2 separate regions of the Homo sapiens genome follow, and region 2 is linked to region 1. Evidence: promoter capture Hi-C in human tissues and cell types (Jung and others, 2019). All regions are on one chromosome and are shown on one strand. The core of a region is centred on a gene start or on the middle of the fragment in contact, and the rest is flanking DNA. Distances in the headings are between cores, read along the strand shown.

Evidence for each region. Contacts are between HindIII fragments. The study calls those that stand out against the background at their distance.
Region 2: a contact is called between a fragment that was not itself captured here and the fragment with the promoter of KRT79 in region 1, in 1 of the 25 tissues and cell types used here (thymus).

What each region holds. Positions count from the first base shown.
Region 1 is chr12:52,829,927-52,837,273 of GRCh38, forward strand. It overlaps KRT79 (keratin 79), which reads right to left and starts at 4,385. Exons shown (of 9, transcript NM_175834.3): 1 at 3,858-4,385; 2 at 1,480-1,700; 3 at 306-366; 4 at 97-192. The coding sequence starts at 4,334. RefSeq lists an enhancer at 6,857-7,347. The HindIII fragment of the contact is 20,589 bases long and covers 1-7,347 here.
Region 2 is chr12:52,276,924-52,284,270 of GRCh38, forward strand. All of the region lies in intron 2 of KRT86 (keratin 86), which reads left to right. It overlaps KRT86-AS2 (KRT86 antisense RNA 2), which reads right to left and starts at 2,233. Exons shown (of 2, transcript NR_199073.1): 1 at 2,018-2,233. RefSeq lists an enhancer at 3,154-4,353. The HindIII fragment of the contact is 5,713 bases long and covers 710-6,422 here.

The DNA.
Region 1 (7,347 bases), core at 3,135-5,634:
GAGGTTGCACTGGTGAATTCAGGTCAGACCTCCATGGAAAACGCCCAGTGCTGTTTATAGTGTATGCAAACTCTCCCTGCCCATTGGCCACCTCACCATTTCATAGAGTTGCTGCAGGAAGTCAATCTCCTGGGTCAAGGTGCCCACTTTGCCATGCAGATCCATCCGGCCCATGTATGCTGCATCCACATCCTGGGGACGAGAGAGCAAGACAGATCCTCAGGCCCCAGGGATGTCCCCTCTCCCCGAATCAGCCCAGTACCCTGGCAGCCAAAGGACCACCTCCCCCACTCCACTCGGCTCACCTTCTTGAGCACCACAAACTCGTTCTCTGCAGCAGTGTGCTTGTTGATTTCATCCTCGTACCTGTTACACATGGGAGACTCAGGCCAGGCTCAGCCTGGCTCTGCCTTTCAGGCATGGGACCCACTCAGCCTTACAGAAGCCCTGATGGGTCCCTCACTGATCAAGAACACCTCTGGGGAGCAGTTCTTTAATGTAGCCAACCAGTGAAGAAACATGGGGTCTGCCTTGATTTAAACATTCTCTCTCCCCACCCCATTTTAGGGAAAGAGGCACAGAATTTGTGCAATAATATGGCAATCAAGAGCTGCCATCTCTTTGGATCCAAGCCCTTAGGAGGCTTTAGAGGGACAAGTGAAGATGTGTCAACAGTGGCTGACCTTTACCATCACTTTCAACAACACAGTGTCATTCAAACCAGCTAACTCCTCCCCAACCACTTTTGATGAGATTTTAAGGTTTAGAAATTGCCATGGTCAATTTATGGGAAAAGTCATTTTTAAATGTGCGTGTTTAAAAGTTATAAATACGCATATCAACCAATTATAATATATAAACCTTTGGAGCTTGAGTCAAATAAGCTGTATTTTTTAAATTTATGACATGTATGGGGTCACTGGAAATTCAAAACTGGCTGGATATTTAATGATATTGAGGAATTATTGTTTTAAAATTTTTTAGGTGTGATTATGCCACTGTATGTTTTACTGAGTCATAGATGAACTACATTCACATGCAGATATATGAATATAACTTGTAAAATATTAGTGAATGAAATGACAAGATGTCTGGGATTTGCTTCAAGACTACAAGGGAATCAGAACACGTAGAAAAAGGCAAAGGTAAAAAAAAAAGACTACACGGGAAGAAGGGAAGTGGGGAGGTGTAAAAAATGCAACAAGATTGGTTATGAGTTGATAATGATTAAAGCTGGGTGACAGGAACATGGGGTTCATTATACTATTCCCCCTACTTTAAAAACTTTTTTAAATTACAAACAAACCTGCCAATTCTCCAGGTGGCAGCAGGTGCTGGACCTGAGCACCTGAGGGAGCCAGCTCTGTCTGTGCATCCCCCAGGTGGGCCTGGGACCCTGGGAATGGGGTGGCCCTCTTGGCAGGTTTCCCACTGCCCCTCCTCACTCCCACATGGCCCCGCCTGGCCTGCTCTCCTCACTTGTTCTTGAAGTCCTCCACAAGGTCCTGCACGTTCCTGAGCTCTGAGTCCAGCCTCCCCCGCTCGCTCTGAAGTCTGTCCAGCGTGCTCCGCATGCTACCCAGGTAGGCCTCAAAGAGGGGCTCCAGGTTGTTCCTGGTGACACCCAAGTTCTGGCCCTGCTCCTGCAGCAGTGCCCACTTGGTCTCCAGCACCTTATTCTGTTGCTCCAGGAACCGCACCTGAGCCAGAGCAGAAAGGGTGGGCTGATGTCACCCTCCGGTCACCAGAGGAGCCAAGGATGGGGTCCATTGCCACCTCCCCTCCAAGGCCAGGGCAACATAGGGACGCTGCAGCCGCACCTACACTTTGCTGTGGGGAGGCACTCCTTAGGGGAATAGACTGCTGGAAACGACCGTCCAATCTGATGGAAAGAACTCTACCAAGTTAATAAGCACAAAAGCCCAGCTCAGTAGCAGTACCAATTTACTAGTTGGTAACCTTGGTCGAATCATTTCTCTCTGAGTCTCCCTCTCTCACTTGTCCTGCATAAACTGGACTAGATCTATGTTTCTGACCCCTAATTCTGCATTAAAATCATCTGTTTAAAATGTAAATCAACTGTTTAAAATCACACACTTTGGGAGCCTGAAGCTGGAGGAGTGCTTGAGCTCAGGAGTTCAAGACCAGCCTAGGCAACATAGCAAGACTGTCTCCACTAAAAATCAAGACAATTAGCCAGGTGTAGTGGCATGCACCAGTAGTCCCAGCTACTCAGGAGGCTGAAGTGGGAGGATCACTTGAGCCCAAGAGATGGAGGCTGCAGTGAGCTATGACTGTACCACTGCACTCCAGTCTGGGAAACAGAGCAAGACCCTGTCTCAAAAAATAATAATAATAAATTAAGAAAATTGGTGAACTGGGTGAAAGAGTATACAGGAGTATGTTGTACTATTCTTGCAACTTTTCTGTAAATTCAACATTTTTTCCCAAAAAAAACTTTTTTTAAAGTACCAATGTCTGAGCCCTTCCTCTATAGACTCAGAAGGAGGCTTACGGTGTGGGTTTAACAGGACCCCCGAGAGTTCTTGGCCCAGCTGGGGTTCCAAGACAATCTCTCAGACCTCCAGCTCCCAAGCTGTGATTCTGCAATCCTGAGAAAGGTTTTGGCTTGTTTGGCCTCTGGGACAGTCCCACAGGAAAACCAAAAGTCACTAGGGGAGAGGGTGAGGAGGCAGGCAAGACGGCTTGCTTCATATTCTGTCATCCAATATCTCCAGGTCCCATCTCCACACTACCTGGGCCTCAGTCACATGCCCTGGGAGCATCATGCAGCAGGTGTGCCTATTGTGAGCAGTAACAACTCTTAGTGCCAAGAACCACAGAGTCCAGGGGCCTGGGTCCCAGTCCCGCCTCTGCCTCCAACTCCTTGTATCATCCTGGGCAAATCACTTGAGCTCTCTAGACCTCAATTTTCTCATCTCAAAAATGGGCACAATATCACCATTTCTGAGTCTTCATAGAAGCACTGTGGGTACCTCAGGAGAAAAGGGATGTGCATGTTCTTCGGAAACACACAAATCACTGAACCAAGGTACATTTGTCTGCCAGACCTTCCCCATCATGACCCGCTGCCTTGGCTCAGGATCGAGGTGGACAATGCCAGCGAAACAGACCAGGAAATCCCAGCACAAGTGTTGCTCCCATCCATCTGGAGGCAAGGGCAAGGTTCAGGGCATGCCTATGGGCAACAGGTCAAATTCCACATTCCCAGAGCTTGGTGACCTGGTGACCACCCTCCTCATTGTCCACCCCAAATTGAGCTTCTTCACTCAGAGTGTAAAAAAAGGAGAAGCGGAAGGGAGCCTACCCCTAGGACCCCACCCACACACAACTGTGTTTTGATCACATCTTGCCCTTAAGCCTCCTCCAAGCCTGAAAGAATGGAACAAACAGGGCTCCATGCTCTTAGCCTTGAACAACTCTTTCAACTCCTGAGCATTGTTTCCCCAGCTGTAAAATGACAAAAGGCAATGCAGGCCACCCCACTAAGAGGAGCTATGAGGACAATCCATTTTTTGATGATGAGGTAAGGCTACTGTGCAATCAATCGTATTAATCATGGTGGTAGGACAGGCTTCAACACGGGCAAGGTGGACTTGGCAAACCGGACTCATGAGTAGACTGGAGACTCCCCCCGCACAGGCACGGTGAAGACCTGAAGGCCGCCTCCAGCCACCCACGTCTCGGCATCCCAGGCTCAGACCGGGAGAGCTCCAGAGCTCTATCAACCACCACCCTAGTACAAGTGGGCTACAGCAGCCCTGGCCCAGCCCACCCTCTATTAGAGGTCCCGCTTCTTCCCCAAGAGCTCCCTTCCTCCTTCCTGCTTGGCCCACCTTGTCGATGAAGGAGGCGAACTTGTTGTTGAGGGTCTTGATCTGCTCCCGCTCCTGAGTGCGCACTCGCTGGATCTCGGGGTCAATCTCCACATGGAGGGGGGTCAGCAGGCTCTGGTTGACAGTGACCTCCTGGATCCCCCCAGGAGGACAAGCAGGCCCAAACGTCTGCCTGCCAGCCCCCTGTCCCATAAATGCCCTGCTGCCAAAGCCAAAGCCCCCCAGAGCCCGCCCCAACAAGGCCCCTCCGGCCACACTGACAGAGATACTCTTGTGGCCCCCCAAGTTATAGAGGCTTCGGCTGCCAAAGCCACCTGTGCCGGGGCCACAGTGGGCCCCGCCACCACTGCCACTGCTCCGAGACACCGTCACTGAGCTGAAGCTGGTGCGGGCCTGGGACCCACTCCCTCCGCTGGCAGAGTTGGAGCTGAAGCCCCCTTTTGTGGAGTATGTTTGCCGAGAGACGGAGGACCTCATAGCTGCAGAGGGGCCGGAGGGCAGGATGAGAGGGCAGGAAGGGAGTGCCGTGAGCTGCTGGGCCACTGTGGGCTTTTTATCTTTTCCCAACTGGGCCGGCTCCCCAGCTCCACAGACACTCCTGCCCCATCGCCCCAAGGGGAGAGGGAGGGGTCCTTAGGGCCACGGGGAGTGCCCTCTCCCCAAGCAGGAGGGAGGGGCCCTCCCGGTTATCACCTGTGCTCCAGAGCTGGGGCTGAGCCGAGACTGTCTGGGGCAGGATGCCACCTTCTCCCCCTGCCCCCAGGCTCTCCTCGGTTGGCACAGGATGATACGGGCTCCCATGGCCACCCCCACCACCCAGTGGCTGGCTTGCTGTCCTCCCACCCAGCCCCAGAGGCCACTGTCAATAGGGCTCTGTTCTACGGGGTTTGTCCCAGGCCCCTGTTGTAAGCCAAGGCTGCAGGGCCTGGGGCTGTACAGGTGGTAGGAGAAGGAGCATTGGGCAATGGGCTGCCAGAGAGAGCATCCAGGCCTGCTCCCATCCCACCCCCAGCCAACGGCCCACCACTCCTCCCAGGTCCAGGGTGTGTGACACAGGTGACAGGGCGAGAGTGGGGATAGCCTGTGCCTCTGCCGTACAGTGGCAGAGCCTTCTGGGAAGTGAGCCTATGCTGGCAAAGTGAATTCAAGGACAGAAAGAGGATCCCTGCCCAATCGTGGGGCCCAGGCCCTTGATCAGGAGGTAGAAAAGGCCTGGGGTCCTCAGGCAGGGCCCAGAAGCCTGGGAGCAAAGGACATTCTTATGGAGGCTGAAGAGAGGGCAGGGGATTTAACCAATACCTGAGATCCCTGAGCCTCTACCCCACAGCAGAGTCCCCACAGAAAGGTTCAGCCACTTTGGAGGGAGCTGGAGGTGGGTCAAGGACACAGACCACCCTGGGTGGAGACAGGCACAGCTCCAAAAAGCAGGTGTTCCAAAAAAGCCCCAGGAGGCCCACGCAGCAGCCCCGTCACTCCCATCTTCCCCTGCCCCACATGCAGGAGCCCATGTTTCTGATTCAGAGGGGCCAGGGGAGCTCCTTAAATCACCTCATATGGTCCCCGCCGCCCACTTCCTATTCACCTCAGTCTGCTGGGACCAAACACAGCCCCAAGCAAAGACAGAGACGTCAACTGTCAGGGCCGAGGGGTGACTGAGGAGGTGACTTTAGACACTGGCCCTCCCCACCCCCTTCTCTCAGCAAGAAGATGGGCTCAAAGTGAACAGAGACTTGCCTGAAAAAAAGGAGCGAGGACAGCATCGCTGTGCTCCCCACCCCCATCAGATGAGCAGGACAACCAGCCAGGCTGTGTCCCCAGGATCCCAACAGAGAGGACATGGGACTGCCACGGAGAAGGCTTGGCCTCCCTCCCATGTTCCCCACAGCCCAGCAAGTGAAGAGACAGCCTGCTCCAGGACCAGAGGGAGCTGTGGGATCTTCTCCTAGGGCCCCTGGGAGGCTGTAAGTGGCTCCCCGTTGCTTGAAGAGGTTGAACCCAGCTCCCACAAGGAATGGGAGTGAGAGCACTTGCAGAACTAGTCCCTTAATAGCCAAGAGGAGATTTTGGAGTTAGGACACTGGGCATTTCAGGGAGCCAAGCCGAGACGTCTCCCACACTGAGCTGTGTGTCCTGGGGCAACTCGCAACTTCTCTGAGCCCCATTTTCTCTGCCTATAAGCAGGGCCCTCCGTGGAAGACCTTTCGAAAAGTGATCCCTGGATGAAGCCGCCCCTTCCCACTGACCTTCGTCTCCTTTCCCCAGGCTGAGATCACTTTCTCAGCCTCCCTTATCTCTCCCTGGGTGGCGTGGGAGGAGGAAACAGTCATGAGTGGGCCCTAGCCTCCAGGATGTGGCTGTGGGCCCCCTGGGCAAGGAAGTGTTGTCAGCCCTCTGAGTCACAGGGCAGCCAGGCTGGTGGGAGTGAGAGGCAGTCGATAAACACAAGTCTCACCTCACCCCAGACACGACACTCACGCCAGTCCCTTGCACACATTTACCAAGCACGCTCTCTGGGCCACGCTTTGTGCTGGGAGCTGGTGACAGGCACACAGGGACCAGGGCACACTCTCATGGAGCTCCCGGCTTGCTGCTTGGAGACAGCCTCCCTCCCACCCAGGTTCACAGCCCAGGCCCAGACAGAAGCCTGGGAGGGCACTTTGCCTCCACCAGCCCCTACTCTCCACTCTACCTTCAGACAGGACATGCACGCTCAGACCTTCTTTCTGCAGCCCAGGGAGGAGCAGTTTCCTCCCCTCCTGCCCTCCACAGAGAGGAAGAGCTGCTGCACACTGCTATACTGATTACTGAGGGGCTCCATCTCTGGAGACTGTCACCTGCCCAGAGTCCCTCCCTGATGGCAGGACACAAAAGCAGAGGGGACTGAAGGTTGCTGCCACCAAAGGGAGGGGGCAAGAGAGTGGATACTGCCAACCTAGCACCTACCATGGGTCAGGCCGGGTGCCGAGCAATAGGAAAGTTACAGGGACAAAGGAGCCCCAAGAGGGTAGGGCTTTCTGAGCTAATTATCATCATTATTACAGTCAACACTTACTGAGCACGTACTATGCAGCAGAGTGGCCTGGATGCCTTCCCTGCAATGGCATGTTGAGTCTCCGCACTGGGTGATGCTCCATCTGCCTCCCTCCCGCTCCATTCTCCACCTTCCTCTGACCCTTGTGGGCTGCTCCCTGGCACTCTGGCTTCCAGTTGAGTTGACCAAAGGGAGACACCAGCAGGAGATCAGAGGGAGGAGACAGGTCAGATGTTTCTTCCCAGCTCCCTCCCTGCTTCCAACCACTTCAGACCACTGTCTGGGGACATGGCTACATCTCCCCATGATTACAGCTTCTGCCACCTCACTGCTTCTCTTGATCTTCAGCTCTACATAAGGCGACCAGCCCATCCTGATTTTCTCAGGACTGCCCAGCTTTAGCACTGCAAGTCCTCTCAGTCTTGGACACACTGAGAGGGTGGACCTCACTCTAGGTGT
Region 2 (7,347 bases), core at 2,316-4,815, 550 kb before region 1:
GAGAGAGATCTCCCTTGTACAGGAATGGGTGACTCTGAGAAGGGATAAGCTGCTGAGGTTCTGAGGGGGCAGAGTGAGTGGGTGGGCCATCATGGTCAGGGTCCCACCAGCCACAGCTGTTCTGGTTCCCCAAGCAGCAAATACACTTCACCAAGGTCTTATTATTTTTCCTCCTGAAGAGTATAAACTCTAGGTTCCCGTGAGGAATGGATATTCTTCTTGCTAGTTTTCCTTAGGAAACAATAACCACAGCATTACATGCCAAAGAGCATTGGATGCTTCTGGGATCCTGGCTCATATTAGGAGTTTCTCCATACTAGACGTAAAAGGCTCTCTCTCAGCCATCCTAGATAGCCGGTTTCAAATCTTCACCCTGAAGGTAGACAGGTGGGCAGGTTCTTTTCATCTTGCCATACAGACAAACAAACACAAGTTTTGGAACAGGTGTGCTCACTCCTTGCAACCATGGACAATCTCCAATCCCTCATTGGCTCTGCAGCCTCAGAGCAAGGTCTGGATCCTTAAGGGGGAAGGAGTGAGGGCCAATAATGTCCTTCTGTCCTTGGTCTACCCTTCGCTCCCTACGCCCTGTGAACTAGAGGAAGTCAAGGACCCGCCAGCTCTGCAGGAGGAGGGTGGCTCTGGCAGCACCAAGGGCAAGCTGGCTTGGCTGGAGGCTGCCCTGCAGCGAGCTAAGCAGGATGTGATGTAGCAGCTGTGTGAGTACTGAGAGCTGTGATCGTCAAGTGGGGCCTGGACTTTGAGATTGCTGCCTGCCACAAGCTGCTGGAGGGTGAAGAGAGTGGATGATGGGTCAGCTGGGAAGTGCTTCAGATGTGGCTGCAGTGAGGAGTGCAGGGGCACAGGGCAGCACCACGCTCATCAGCCAGGGAAGGGTGGAGAGAGATGACCTAGGTATCCAGGAACTCGTTCCTCTAGAGCTAGGTTTCTCTCACCATCTTACAGCCCTTTGAACAAAAAGTTCTAGCTGATGTGTACTTTTGGCACCTGGGACGGGGTGACCCATAGTCATCCACCCCAGTATCAGAGACCAGGGGCCGGTTTGTCCATGGAGACAGCTGCAGGGACCAAGGCCTAGCCAGTGGGAATAAGGTCTCTGTGTGAAGTGCCTTCTTCTCAACTCTGCCCCTCTCCCCAGGCCTGGGGAAGGTGGGGTTACATGACCAGGTGGGGCTTGGCTTTCAACTCAGTAGACAACAGTAGGAGACAAGGGCTGTCACCAGGCTAGGGGAGGGAGGGGGAACTGATCACCCATGCCACAGGCATATTGCATTGATCACCTCCTTTAACACCTCACAAAACCCTGGCAGGGAGGTCCTATTATCCCCATTTTACAGATGAGGGGTAAGTTTCAGAGAGGTTAAGTGACAGCTTTAGGGACACACACTAGTCTTCAGATTATGGAGCTACCTGCTCTGGGGTCTCCTGTAGAGGTTTAAAATGTTCCCTCACGGTCTCACCTTCCAAGATCAAGTCAGGCCAAAGAAAGTGTAGTTTTTTTTTTTTTTTTTTTGGTCTTCTCTTTCCTCCAAAAAGTCATCAACAAAAGTGAGTTATATGAATTTAAGGCAGGAGTGATCAGAGAGCGCCAGGGAGCTTGCAGGGTGGAAGGACTGCTGTCTGGGAGGGTCAGGAGTGTGTGTCCTGGGGAATGCAGAATACCAAACCTAGTAGACAGATGGACTCACCTGCTTCCTTCTTTCCGCTGGCTTGGTCTGGGATTTGGGGCAAGGAGCATCAGTAAGTAAACAGTAGGCTGGCATGGTCGGATCTTATCTTATTATCTTATTCTCCTTATTCCCTCCTTCCCCGTCCACACCTTGGCGTGCCTCCTCTTGAGAAGGCAGAAGGGCTGTGTTTCTGTTCCTGTGTCTGTGACAGCTCCCTCTGTGCCTCTCCTTTTGTCGGGGGCTATTTCTTCTCTCGGGGGTGACTGCGTTTGCGTGTGTGGGGAAGGGGGTCCTGTGGTCTGTTCTCTGGGGAGAGGTCTGTTTACCTGTTCCTTTCGGGGAGTTTGTACATCTGTCTCCTGGTGGGGAGGAGGGTCTGTGTATCTGGAGGAGATGTCTGCAAGTCTGTCTTCTGGGGCTTGGGGTGGGGGGAGGAAGGGCTTTCCTCCCTCGGACAGTCGTCCTCCGTTCAGCCGGGCTCCGCCTGCCTGCTCCAGCCCCGAGCAGGCTCCGGCGCCCTGGAGACGAGCGCCCCTGGCGGCGGCTACGCGCTCTGCGGCTCTCCCGGCTGTGTCCGTGGGCTTTAGCTACACAGCTCCCGCAGATGTTGAACCCTTCCCGCCTCCCTCCGGAGAAGACAAGGAACCCTCAGCTTCTGCCCTAAAGACTTAGCCCTCTTGTGTCAGATGCCCCCTCCCATAGAGCTGACCCCACATCATCTTTCCTTTTTGCCTCCCACACCGGGACGTGAGGCGTTGGAGCACAGCTTACAGGACTATGACTGACCATCCCCAGTGCAGATGGCCTGGACGCTGGTGCCATTGGGTAGAGGTGGCCAGCTTACCTGGACCAAGAACCCTGCCCCTCTGAACTGTTCCCACCCCTTCTTTCCAGGGACTTCTCTGCAATAAAAAGTTGTGGAGTGGTCTGAGCTGCCAGGAGTTTAAACCCGGATTCTCCAGGCCATTCCCAGAGCACAGACAAACCTGGCTGCGGTGGAGGGGTCAGGGCGAGAACAGTACCAGGAAGCAACCTCCTCCCCTCCTGCTGTGAGGGTCTATGTGACTTAAGTATATGATGATTCGATATTATAGAACCAGAGTCTTTAGGATGGGGAGCCCGGAGTCCATGGGGAAAGCGAGAGAAAGGGTTCATTCATGCAGAAGAGTCTAGCCTGGGGCCCATAGCTTCTGGGCAGCAGAGCTGAGAATTCCATTCTCCATCCATCCATTCACTCTACACATACTTACTGAATGGCCTCATAGTGCTTGGTTCAGGGGACAGGATGGTGAGGAAGACACTCTAGGATTCCTGGAGATGAGGTTCTGGGTAGGGAGGTGGGCCATAGACGAGGAAACCGAGCAGAAACAGAAAAGGGTGAGATGGGGATTGGGCCAGTGCCTTCTATCACCCTGATGGGGCATTTGAAGACAGGTGGCCCTTGCAGATGGGGGCTGGAGAGAGATGAACACAATTGGGTGGCCCAAGCTTGGGTTCTGGTTTAACACACAATTGGGCCACCGAGTTGTGTTAATATGATCTGGTGGCGGGCAGAGGAACAACACACTATGGTGGAGGAAATTGTGGGCTGTGAAATCAGACGGAGGCTCCAGCTCTGTCTCTACTTCAGATCCAGGGTGTAAGTTGGTCCGAGTTTTTACAAGGCATTGGATTTTGGTGGTCGGAAGATAGAGTGGGGTGGCTAGATAAAGGCTGGATTTCTGGGTTCTTTCCCTGCCACACAGACCCAAGAGAAGCTTCTGTACAGTGAGCCCACATTCCTTTCTATTGCATGAAATTACATCATCAATGCAACAATAGTTTCTGCTTTCTATGTCCCTGGGTGGGGCTGAAGTGCGTCATTGGCCAGAGGCTTGGGCTTTACTTTTTAAGGCACTCTAGTGCCAGAGTGTCTGCTGTGTTCTTCTGGGTGCCTGCCCAGAGGACAGGTATCCAAAAGGCCCTCTTCTTGTGTAAACAGAAAAGTCTCATGCAAGAGGAATGGGACTGAAACTTGGCTAGCCGGATGCCACCCTCCTGAGGGGTAGGGGGCATGACCCCACTGGGCTCACACATCAGCCCTGGTTGATAAATACTGACCTGCCAACACTCGCAAATGCAAACAAGCTGCCTGAAGATTCTTTCAAGATTCTTTAGTCCAGCTCTGTGCTCCTTGCATTTTGCTAGGGGATCATGAGATTCTCTGCTATTCAAGCCCAATTTTCTCCAGCTCCTGCTATGATGATCATGTCAACAAGGGAACTTTGTGGGAATTGTAGGCAGGATCTAGGATGTACATTCTGCAACCTGCGTCACTCAGGACTGTTGCTCACATTTTCCCTTTTCAAATACCGAACCTGGACTTGCCTGATGTCAATCCAGAAGATCCCCAGGGCTTTGGGGTCAGGTTTGAGTTTCTTCCTGGGCCAGGGCCCTGTGGATCACAAGCAATGTTTGTGGTTTGGAGACTAATTCCCTGAGAGGCTCCCCTGGCCATGGGCCACATTCCAGACTGGGGTGGGAGGAAACTGCCCAGTGCATTTATGGAGAGTCATTCCCCAGCCCATTTATAAGCTTTGTGAGTCGGGTGGCTTCTGAAGGGAGGAGGGCTGTCCTCAGTTCAGTCATTGCTTCTCAGCAGAAGGGCACTATAAGGTGTGAGTCCTCTGTTGGCTCTGCATGCCTGCCTCACACTCCGTTGTATTTAAACATGTCAGATGCTAACTTGGCTGTGGTCATGTCTCTATCTGAGCCCCAGGAGGGCAGTGAAGGTCTCATCCATCCTCAGGGTCTGCCACAGAGTAGATGTGATGGGGTTGAGGCTGCATGGTCCTGGTTGGTGTGTCCTGTCCTGAGATGTATTGGGCCCTGTTTTTGACCATTGGCATGTGGCATTCTGCATAACCCCTTGGAAGTCTCTTGTGGAGTCTAAATGCAGTCCTTCCTGCTGTGATTTCAGCTGTAAGAGATCAACCAGACCAGCCTGGAGTAAGGAAGGAAGGGCCTTGATCCTGTTCCCAGTCTTATTCTTACCTTGTCCAAACTCTTCACCTGTTTCTGGGCCTCAGTCCTGCCCTCCTCTAGATCTAAATTGTGAAGATTCTTTTTTTCCTTCTTATTTAATTTTAAATTTATTTTTGTAGTGATGAAGTCTTGCTCTATCACCCAGGCTAGAGTGCAGTGGCAGGATTATAGCTCACTGCAGCCTCAACCTCCTGGGCTGAAGCGATCCTCCTGCCTCAACCTCCTCAGTAGCTGGGACTACAGGCACATGCCTCCACGCTCTGCTAATTAAAAAAAAAGTTTTGTAGAGATGGGGTCTCACCATACTGCCCAGGCTGGTCTCAAACTCTTGGCCTCAAGCAATCCTCCTGCCTCAGCCTCCCAAAGTGCTGGGATTACAGATGTGAGCCACTGTGCTTGGCTTTCTTTTTCCTTGTTTTCTTCCCTACTTAGTCCCTCTGAGCCAAAGGTTAGCTGCAAAATAGAGTAACTATCAGAGGGTTGTTTGAGAAAAGGTATTGCTGCATGTAAAGTGCTTAAAGCATAGGAAGTTATGTAAGTGTAACTATTATTTCACTTACTGGAATTCTTTAGAAGGTTTTTGAGCCCCCTGAAACAATTTTTTTTTTTTTTGAGACAAAGCCTTGCTCTGTCGCCCAGGCTGGACTGCAGTGGCGCAATCTTGGCTCACTGCAAGCTCCGCCTCCCGGGTTCACACCATTCTTCCGCCTCAGCCTCCCAGATAGCTGGGACTACAGGCGCCTGCCACCGTGATGGGCTAATTTTGTTTTTGTATTTTTAGTAGAGACGATGTTTCTCTGTGTTAGCCAGGATGGTCTCGATCTTCTGACCTCGTGATCCGCCCGCCTCAGCCTCCCAAAGTGCTGGGATTACAGGCGTGAGCCACCGCGCCCGGCCAAGTTTTGAGCCCCTTTAAAGAAAGCTCTCCAAAGTCCAAGGGTGGCTGAACTCCATCTGCCCCACCTGGAGTGAGAGTGACCATAGGGCAGGAGGAATAAGTAGGCAAGCCTAGGGGTTAGAGCAAGGGCTCCTTGGCCAGAGGGCACCTCCCTAGTATGACCCCCAGCAGCATCTGCCCATCACTACGCCCACTTTAGCCCCACTCCCCATCGGTGACCCCTACCTCACCAGCACACATGGGTCTACCCATGTACCCACACTGCACTCACATCCACATGTACCCACAAATCTCCCTTTTTCAGCACATAGATGCACACATGTCCACCATGTATAATCACACATTTAGAAACCCTCACCATCTCTCTCACACACACGTTTCCACACAGGTGCCTGGAATGTGCATGTACCTGGATGCAATCATATTGCTCCACTCGCAGTTACCTCTAGGCATTGAGCAATGCAGAATGAATATACAAACAACATGCGCATACACTGCACAGTTGCATGAAACCTGGACTCCCCATTTCCCTCTAGCCCCTAATCCTGTCCCACCTCTCCCAAAGAATAACAGAGTTGACTGGGTGCGGTGGCTCATGCCTGTAATCCCAGCACTTTGGGAGGCTGAGGTGGGTGGATCACAAGGTCAGGAGTTTGAGACCAGCCTGGACAATAAGGTGAAACCCCGTCAGTACTAAAAATACAAAAATTAGCCCGGTGTGGTGCAGGCACCTGTAGTTCCAGCTACTTGGGAGGCTGAGGCAGGAGAATTGCTTGAACTAGTGAGGTGGAGGTTGCAGTGAGCTGAGCCTGCACCACCGCACTCCAGCCTGGGCAACAGGGTGAAACTGTCTCACAAAAAAAAAAAAAAAAAAAAAAAAGAATAATAGAGCTTTAAATTGGTAAGGGATGTTAGTAGCCACCTAATCCAAGCATTTTTTTTTTTTTTTTTTTTTTTTTGAGACAGAGTCTCGCTCTTGTTGCCCAGGCTGGAATGCAATGGCGCCATCTTGGCTCACTGCAACCTCCACCTCTCAGGCTCAAGCAATTCTCCTGTCTCAGCCTCCCAAGTAGCTGGAATTACAGGCACATACCACCACGCCTGGCTAATTTTTTGTATTTTCAGTAGAGATGGGGTTTCTTCCTATTGGTCACGCTGGTCTCAAACTCCTGACCTCAGGTGATCTGCCCACCTCGGCCTCCCAAAGTGCTGGGATTACAGGCGTGAGCCACCACGCCCAGCCCCAAACATTGTATTTCATTAGCAGATACACTAAGGCCCAGAGATGGGAGGTGACTTGCTAAAGGTCACACAGTGAGATGTTCCATTTTCTTCACCATTCTGCACCCGGGGCATTATGTGTTTGATTCCTTCCCGCCTTGCTCCTCTGTCTGAGCCTGTGCAGGAATGGGAACCTAGAGGGAGGTGAGGATTGTGGGGCCGGAGTAGGAAGGAAGAGAGGGTCAGAGCTAGAGGGAGAGTGAGGGAGTGAAATACGGCAGGTCACTAAGGCCCAGCTAGGCTGAAGTTGGAATAGGTGAGAAGTCCATCAGGACTGGAGTTGTAGTTGGCTTCTGAACTAGGGAGGGATGGAGCTGGTGCTTGAGTCTCAGGTCTGGACTCCTGACAGGGGCTGCTGCTGCTGCTGCTGCTTCTTGTTTTTTTATTTTTTTGAAACAGGGTCTTGCTGTGTCGCCCACGCTGGAGGCAGTGGCACAAACATGGCTCACTGTG